Linked DNA regions of Homo sapiens: region 2 is linked to region 1. Evidence: promoter capture Hi-C in 16 types of primary human blood cells and fetal thymus (Javierre and others, 2016). All regions are on one chromosome and are shown on one strand. Each heading gives the region's core, a stretch centred on a gene start or on the middle of the fragment in contact. The rest is flanking DNA. Distances are from core to core; before and after follow the strand shown. Region 1 holds the start of ARTN (artemin). Region 2 overlaps PTPRF (protein tyrosine phosphatase receptor type F).

What was found. The method cuts DNA at HindIII sites, captures the fragments that hold promoters and counts their contacts. A CHiCAGO score of 5 or more calls a contact.
Region 2: a contact is called between a fragment that was not itself captured here and the fragment with the promoter of ARTN in region 1, in 9 of 17 cell types (megakaryocytes, fetal thymus, naive CD8 T cells and 6 more). The highest score is 8.7, in megakaryocytes.

Annotation. Positions count from the first base shown.
Region 1 is chr1:43,931,447-43,935,571 of GRCh38, forward strand. It overlaps ARTN (artemin), which reads left to right and starts at 2,355. Exons shown (of 5, transcript NM_057091.3): 1 at 2,355-2,439; 2 at 2,666-2,814. RefSeq lists enhancers at 617-1,117, 1,747-1,796, 3,886-4,125 and silencers at 2,307-2,396, 2,947-2,996. The HindIII fragment of the contact is 8,131 bases long and covers 1-4,125 here.
Region 2 is chr1:43,540,286-43,544,410 of GRCh38, forward strand. All of the region lies in intron 2 of PTPRF (protein tyrosine phosphatase receptor type F), which reads left to right. Among named protein-coding and RNA genes, the nearest start is that of PTPRF, 11 kb to the left of the region's middle. The HindIII fragment of the contact is 9,596 bases long and covers 1-4,125 here.

The sequences.
Region 1 (4,125 bases), core at 1,105-3,604:
AAGGACAGATATTCCTGCAAGCACAGGAAAGATATACTGCTGAGCCCCTGCAGCAAGCAGAGGCTCACAGACCTACCCTACTACTGACACTCCCGTCCCTCTGGGAAGGACATGCCCCAGCCCCAATCATTAGCACAGAGGCACACCCTCTCCCTTCAGCCCTGCTCTAGGTATCCTCTGTCATACTTTAGAAAAGATATCACGTCGCCTTCTTAAGAGTCCTAGAGTCTGATCCCTCTCTTCCCCAGCATCCCCAGGCAGGCCTGAGAATGGACAGACCAGACTGTCGCCTGCACTTGAGGCCATGAAGTGAGCTTTCTGTCACACACTGCCACTGTGGCAGGCAGTAAGTGGGGTGGCCGGCTCCTGCTCCTCTCTCCTGCCCACCCCAATCCAAGACTCCAGGCAGCCCTGGGCTGCCCTCCCACTGGTGAGCCCTAAGGCTGGAGTCCCGGCCATCCCAGGGACCAGCAGCCTCCCACATGCTCCTTCCCACTGTGGCCGGCCTTAGGCAGAAGCCTCCTGGGCTAGGGGGGTAAGGGAGGCCCTGACTGAGGGACAGGTCAACCCAGAAACCCCCTCCATTTCTACCGGAAATAAGGCCACTACCATGCACATGTTCCTGCCTGGATGGTGCCCCGTGGAGTTGTACAGGGCATAGGCTGAATGGCCATAAGTGGTGTCCCTGGCTGAAAAAGCCCCAAGGCAGGTGCCCCAACTGAGCAGCCGGTTGTGGGAGGTGACAGAGCAGACTGCTCCCTGCTTGGCCTCCTATCCCAGGGGGCTCCTGGCACGCCTGCAGCAGCCCCACCACCTCCAGCAGCAGTTCTCTGTGGTCTGACTTCTAGTCCTCACCACCGCGGAAAACTACTTTCACACCAGCTATGGTTCTGAGCCCTGGCCATGCACCAGAATCACCTGTGCAATTTGAAAACTGCACATGTCCACCCTGAAAGTCTGATTTGGGTCTGGGTTGAGGCCCGGATGTGGGTAGTTTTTAAAGGTCCCTAGTGGTTCAGAAGCATAGCCAGGGTACAGCTGGTCCACACACATCCCCAGCACTCTCATCCCTGACCACAGCTTCCAATTGCCAGTTGGTTGACAATTCCCAAATTGCCTTTGCCAGCGCAGCTCTCTCTGCTTCCTTCCAGGCTACAAATTCACCGGCTTCCTGAACATTTCCACTTGGATAATCCACAGGCCCTTCCAACTCAACATGTCCAACACCGAACTCATGAGCCCCTGCCTTTCCTCCCAGGAGCCGGGATGTACCCCTCCCCCAGGTCACCCCGCCAAAGGCACACTTTTGCAGGGTCTACCTACCTCCTCACCCTATCCAGTCAGGCACTAATGAATTTTCAAAATTGCGTGTTCCAGATTGGGGCCTGGCAGCCCCACGCTCCCCTCATGCCCTGCATCAGACCTCATCCTCTTTCCACAGCAGCCTCCACCTTTCTCTCCAACCCCATCCTCTTTACTACAGCCAGAGTCATCCACAAAAAATGCCTGTCTGATTACACCATTCTGCTCAAAACCCTCCCATGGTCCCCAGTGTTAGGATCTTTCCATCCATGTTACTCACCCAGCCCTCAACCCACCTGCCAAATTGCCATAATTAGGCATCTGAAATGCTGCCCTCCAGCTACCTACTTCAAGACTCAGCTCAGATGTTCCTCCTCTGTGACCCCTGCCTTCAGCCCTCAGTACCCACTTCTGCCAACACTGCCCCTGCTGTGCCCCAGTGACTCCCGTGTTTGCAAGTGTGTCCGTACTCCAAGCCCTAAGCAGCACAGGAGGTGAGCTGTGGGGAGACTAGAGCAGAGTCAGATCCTGAAAGCTGCGCAGAGGCTAAGCAACCCAACAAGGCAGGTGAACTGGCCGCTGAGAGAAGAATCGGGTGGAGCAGAGAGCAGCTGCTGCAGGGCAGACAGCCGGACCCCCAAATCTGCACGTACCAGCAGTCAGCCGCCCCACGCAGGGACCGGCTTACCCCTCGCTCCCCGCCCTCACTCACTTTCTCCCGCCCTCGGCCCGGCCTCCCAGCTCTCTACTTCGCGAGTCTACAAACTCAACTCCCGGTTTCCGTGCCTCTCCACCGCTCGAGTTCTCTACTCTCCATATCCGAGGGGCCCCTCCCAGCATCTACCCCCCTCCCAACCTCGGGGGACCTAGCCAAGCTAGGGGGGACTGGATCCGACGGGTGGAGCAGCCAGGTGAGCCCCGAAAGGTGGGGCGGGGCAGGGGCGCTCCCAGCCCCACCCCGGGATCTGGTGACGCTGGGGCTGGAATTTGACACCGGACGGCTGCGGCGGCGGGCAGGAGGCTGCTGAGGGATGGAGTTGGGCCCGGCCCCCAGACAAGGCCCGGGGGCTCCGCCAGCAGCAGGTCCCTCGGGCCCCAGCCCTCGCTGCCACCCGGGCCTGGAGCCCCACACCCGAGGTAAGCCAGCCCACTTGCCTGTTTCTGGTCCCAGCCCTGGATGGACGCTCTTGGGCTGGGGGAGAGGACAGGACCACCCCCCTCCTCTCCTTTCTTGCATCCTCCCTCTCTTGGGCCCTCGGCACAGTTCTCCGCCCCTCCCAGCCCCTCAGTCCCTCTTGTCGCTTGTTGGACTGTGCTGGCCTTGCCGGCCCACTGTAATGTGAGGCTCCCGCTGCCGCTACAGGGTGCAGACTGGCTGCCAAGGCCACACTTTTGGCTAAAAGAGGCACTGCCAGGTGTACAGTCCTGGGCATGCGCTGTTTGAGCTTCGGGGGAGAGCCCAGCACTGGTCCCCGGAAAGGTGCCTAGAAGAACAAGGTGCAGGACCCCGTGGTGAGTAGCGGGCTGGTGGATGGGGAGGCAAGGGCCAGAGAACCAAATGGCCCTAGACCACAAGGAGGTAGGAGGCAGGGCCTGAGCTGCCCTCAAGAGACCTGCTCCCGGGCTCCCCCTAGCGCAGAGGGCTCCTAAGGCTGCCCTGCCTGCCTTTCCCTCCATCACGGACAACAGTCACTGGCCTGGCTCGGAGGCCTTGATTCCACTTAGCCAAGAGGCACACACCAGGACCTGGAGGACAACCCCGGGAAGGCCTGGGGGTCTGTTCCACAGGTGTGCAGGCATTCTGTGTGCTAAAGGATGGGGATGAGGGTGGTAGCTGGGACCCAAGAGGAGGCTGGCTAATGAGGACTTACGAAGGCTCTAGGGCCCCAAAAGGGTGTTTGGGAGTGCTAGCAGTGGGAGCTCAGGAAGGCTGGCTGGGATCAGGAACGATGGCTCAAGGGGGAAACTTCTAGGAGCATGACTAGGCTGCCAGATCCATAGGAGGCTGGGAGGGGGACAGACCTAGACCAGCTCCCAGGGTGGCTCAGCTCTCAGAGACCAGGCTGGTATGGAAGCCTAGCTGGCCCTCCTGGGAGTGGCTCAGGCCTGAGTGTAGCTGAGGGGATGGAAAAGCCCACCCTGCTTGGAATCTGCAGGCTTGGCAGACTCTGCCCCCTTGTGGCCACAGGAAGCCATGACCCAGGCCCCATGTTTTCAGAGGGCCCATTAGCTCCCACCATCCCCCGGCTCTGTGGTCATCGAGGGACACCTATAGTCAGAGGAGAGAACTCAGGTGGCTCTGGGTCCAGAACACAGTTCACAGAGGGGCGAGGTGAAGCAGCTCTGGGTGGGCAGCACAGGCTGAGGCTTGGGGCTCACTATCATTAGATAACTCTTAGAGTGACCAGCTAGCACCCTAATTCTTCTCCAGCCCTCAGCTTCCTCTCCGGCAGCCTGGGGTGAAGGCCTCTGTAGGACCAAGTGTGTCCAGCTATAACTCCTTCCAGCCACTTCTGGCATCTCCAGACCTACAACGCAGAGCAGGAAGGTTCTGGGAAAAGAGGACCCCTCTCTCCCCTCCAGCTGTGTGACCTTGTAACCTTAGACAACCTCTGAGCTTCTCTGAGCCTTGTTTGCTCATCTGGAAAAAGGGGATTAAACCATTTACCTCATGGAGTTGTGAAAGAATAGCTGCAAAGCACCTAACACATAGTAAGGTTCCCAGTGCAGCTACTTCTGCTGGGTTGAGTCTAGCTGTGTAGGCCCCTTGTTCCTCACCTGGAGAAACTGGGGTGGCAGGCCGGTCCCCCACAAAAGATAACT
Region 2 (4,125 bases), core at 814-3,313, 390 kb before region 1:
CCTCTTGCTGCTTTCACTATACTGTACAAACCTGGAAAATTGGGGAGGGTCAGTGGGGAAGATGGATAGTGATGGGCCACTTGAGCAGAGTTCTGAGGGGTGAGTGAGTGCTGGGGCAGGAGAAGGACATTTTTTTCCAATAGACAGAACGGCAGGTACAGAGGCTTGGAGGCACAAAGTTGGGAAACAGTAATCCAAGGGGGACCCCAGCCCCAGAGGAAGGGGCCTGGAGGCTTAGGGGTTACAGCCGCAGGAAGATACCTCTGCTGGTCCCCTTTGGTCATTTGCCTCCAGAGTTAGTCTCCTGCTGACCCTTTGCCGCCTCCAAGTCTCTGCGACACTCCTCCTAATCTCCCCCTCCACTCCTCAGTGAGATGGAGAAACTGAGAGCTGCAACAGGGTGGGACTCAGTCCAGCTGGTGGGAGCCCCGATACCAGCCGTGGGAGGGAGGGCTGTTCCTGGCTCTGCTCACGGATTCTGGCCAACTGGCTGGAGGAGGGAAGGCGGCCTCACCCTCTTCCCCACAGGCCCCTCCTTCCCTGGGTCAGGGGTCCTGGCTGAGACTATAATTTATTCCCGTCATAATCCAGTGGTTGGTTTGGTGAGAGCTGGAAACATGTTGGTTTTCCCTTCCCAAGTATAACAAGGCCTGTTTCCGCCTCCGCGGCCGCTGCTGCAGTGCCACGCGGTGAACTGTCCAGGACATGACAAAAGGGCTCGGTTAGCTGCCCGCTGGTTAGAAGATGAACGGCTCAGAGCTCTCCCTGCCGACAGGCTCTTCCCTTCCTGTTGCCCAAGTGCTGGCCTTTCCTCTTGGCCGTCTGCTCTGTAGGGCCCTGGATACCCCTCCTTCTGCTCATGTCCATTTCTGGGCCCCAGGGTCCTGGCCTGGGGAGGTGAGATGGGGGAGGCTACAGAAACAGGTGGTATTTGGAGACTAATTAATATTTGTGAATAATAATGCATGCCCAAGGAAAACAAATCAATCTGTGTTTGCGTATTTATGATGAGGACTCAGGAATGATCCCAGCTGTTCTCCAGCCAGGGAAGCCCCCATCACATGGTCCCTTGGGCCCCCACAGAGGCTGGCAGGGTGGTTAGGGTGGGCTGCATGGAGGTGACATGGCTTCTGTGTTTTGCAACGTGAATCTTCTGTGACGTTCATATGCGAATGCTGTGGCTTGGTCTAGTGCCTGCTTCTTCCTTTTCCCTCAAAGCAGTGATTCCCAGGCTCTTTGGTTTCACGAACCAATACAATTTCCAAAAGTACTCAAGAGCCAGACATGGGGTTGGCAATTTTTTATTTTGCCAAGTAAAGGCATTATAAAAAAACAACTGCTATCTGCTGTCCCCATCATTTCATACAGGAAAGAACATTTTAACACCAAGGACAATATTTGAGAATAAAGGACAGTTCTTCCCAAGAAAGGGCAGTTGGCAGCTTTACACTGACGTAGCAAAGGAAAAGGATATATTAAAACCATTCTGAATGTGGAAAAATTGTGTCCAATTATATTCTATAATATCATACCGTATGTAATTGTGTTCCTGCCCAAGTATGTCAGCTTGGCAGAACGGATGGTCCACAGTGCAATTCAGAGACGAGCTTGAGTGCCCCAGTGCTCCGGCCTTGTTTTTATCTCGGTTGTTGAAAGCCCAGGCTCACCCAGCCATGCTGGTGAAGTGGGTGTTCTGCTGTGAACACCGTTGCATGGATTCACAAGATGCTCAACCTCGCAACCGCAGTCAGGCTAGCAGCAGCCCTGCCCCTTGTTCCTCTCCCACCTTCTCCCCACAGGTGACCCTGGGACCCTGGGACTCTGGGGGCCAAGGTCTACTCTTGAGGCCAGGCCTGGGGATCCAGGGCTGCTCTGCTCTGATGAGGGAGGCCCTGGAGCTGGGAGTGGCCTGAACCGCCTGACACCAGGGCAGGCTCTGTGCCCGGAGTCTCAGGGCGGGAGGCAGCTTGCTCTCGCCAGGAGCTGGTGAGGGAGAGGCCCTGGCTCGTACAGCTGTGTGGCTGCCAGAGTAGTTGCCTGAGAATGTGTTTGTGTGTGTCCCTTGTGTTTCCCCATCTCCCTGGGCATCTGTGTCCTTGTGTCCATCATGGACCACTGGAAGAAGCTCTCTGTTCTACTTTCTGGATCTGAACAAAGTGTCCTGAGCACCCCAACCCAGATACACAGGGGGTTTCTGGAGGCCCCACGTTGGGGGTAGGGTTACCTGAGGCCCAAGTTCTCCAACACCCATGGCCAGACTCTCATCCAGGCTTGTACCACATGGGTGTCTATTCTGGGAGTTTTACCCCCATGATGGCTCTCCTGGGAGCTCTGCCCCCACCATGAAGTCTGTAACAGCACGTTACACCTCTGCTAATGTATGGGGAGTTGCACCCCTGTAATGTCCTTATCAGGCAGCTGCACTCCATGATGTCTGTACCCTCTGTGTCCGCCCACGTGATGTCTAGACCACACCATTACACCTCCATGATGTCTGCACCTGGGCGTTATACTGCTATGATTACTGCACCAAGGCGGCTACAGGGGATTAAGCCTCTGCTCATTGTACTGGGGAGCTATATCCCATGATGACGGTGCTGTGCATTTTATTTTCATAGCAGGGAGATATGCTCATGCTGGGGGCCTATGTCCCTATGAAGCCTGCCTGGCAGGGGTTGCATGCTTGGAATGCTTGTTCCTGGAAGTTAACCTCTGTGACTATTATATTGTTATACCCGATGATGCCGGTACGAGGCCACTGTGCCCTGTCCTTTGGTGCAACACAGCTGTTGAGTTATAAACTCATGTGTCTCATTCAGGGGCTCCAGGATGGTCCATCAGGGGACCATACCCCCATGATGACCTGGCCTGGCATAGGATACCAGATGTGTCCACAGGCCCAGGGAGGAAGAGCCACTCATAGTCCACCACCTGATGGCCGCTGGGAAGGTGCTCCATCGTTGGCTGCATGTGGCACCATAGCGCAAGCTCAGGCAGGGCCTTGGTGATGTGTGACCTCCATCCCACTGTGGCCTTGCAGGCGTCATTGTGGTCTCAGCCACCTCAGCTCTGGGATCGTGGAGCAGATCCATCCCCAGCTTGGTGTAAATGGGGCTGGACACCTATCAACGTTCTTACTTGAAGAACTGGTGTAAATGAAGGCTGGACACCCTTCACCGTTCTTACTTTGTTGTTCAGCTCCTGTCTCAGATTTTTGGTGGGATCCTGGGACAGGGGACAACTCTCACCCCTTTTCCTTTGTGTTTGGCCCCATCCCACTTTGCATTCCCACCTGCTTTGTCCAACACCTTTGCTCAACTGCTGCCTTCTGACCTCATGAACTTTGATTATCTCAGTTGAGACAAGGGTTCAAATTTCAGAAACGACTGGAGCACCTTTGAGCCCTGCCCATTCCTGGTCACCTGCCCTGTCACCTTGCAAATTCTCTTACTATTGTGGGTCAGCGGGGACCTGGGTCTGATCACAACTCCCCTATCAAAGTCCATGCGTATCACTGTGGGGCCCCAAGGCGTGTTCACCGTCATGCACTCTGCTCTGTTGCGTCTTCACAGCATTCATGAGGGATCGACCACGTCTCACCCCTCTGCCCAGAGCATGGTGTGATCAGAGCTTGTGGGCCCTTCCATACATCCCCTGGTGCCCCCCAGGTGAGGGGTATGGGAGAGAGACCCTGGGGAGCTCACCAGTGGGGCCAGGGAGTGATAGCAGCGTATCTCCCATGTATAGTGCGGCCATGCTAGAGGCTTCACCCAGGTGCCTGCAGGCACTTCAGGCCAGGAGCCTTGGAAGTAAAGGCCTAGGGGCATTCAGCCAGTCCCAGACGCTACTCAGTCTTTTTGTGCATAGCTTCCTGTCTCAAACATCAGCCCCTGAGGTTCACACCCCATCATCCCTACACTTGTTTGGCTCCGGGCTTCTGGGGCAAGGGCAGAAGAGATGTGAGGTTTGAATTCTAGGGTCTAACACCCCATTCCTGGCCACTGAGGCCTCCCTGTGGTTTCTCTGTGAAGTAGGAAGGTGCCATGGGAATGGGTAGGACGAGGGTGGCCAGGCAGGGCAGCAGCAGCTTGTCAAGAGCACGTCCTGGTGAGCACTGAGGGGTTG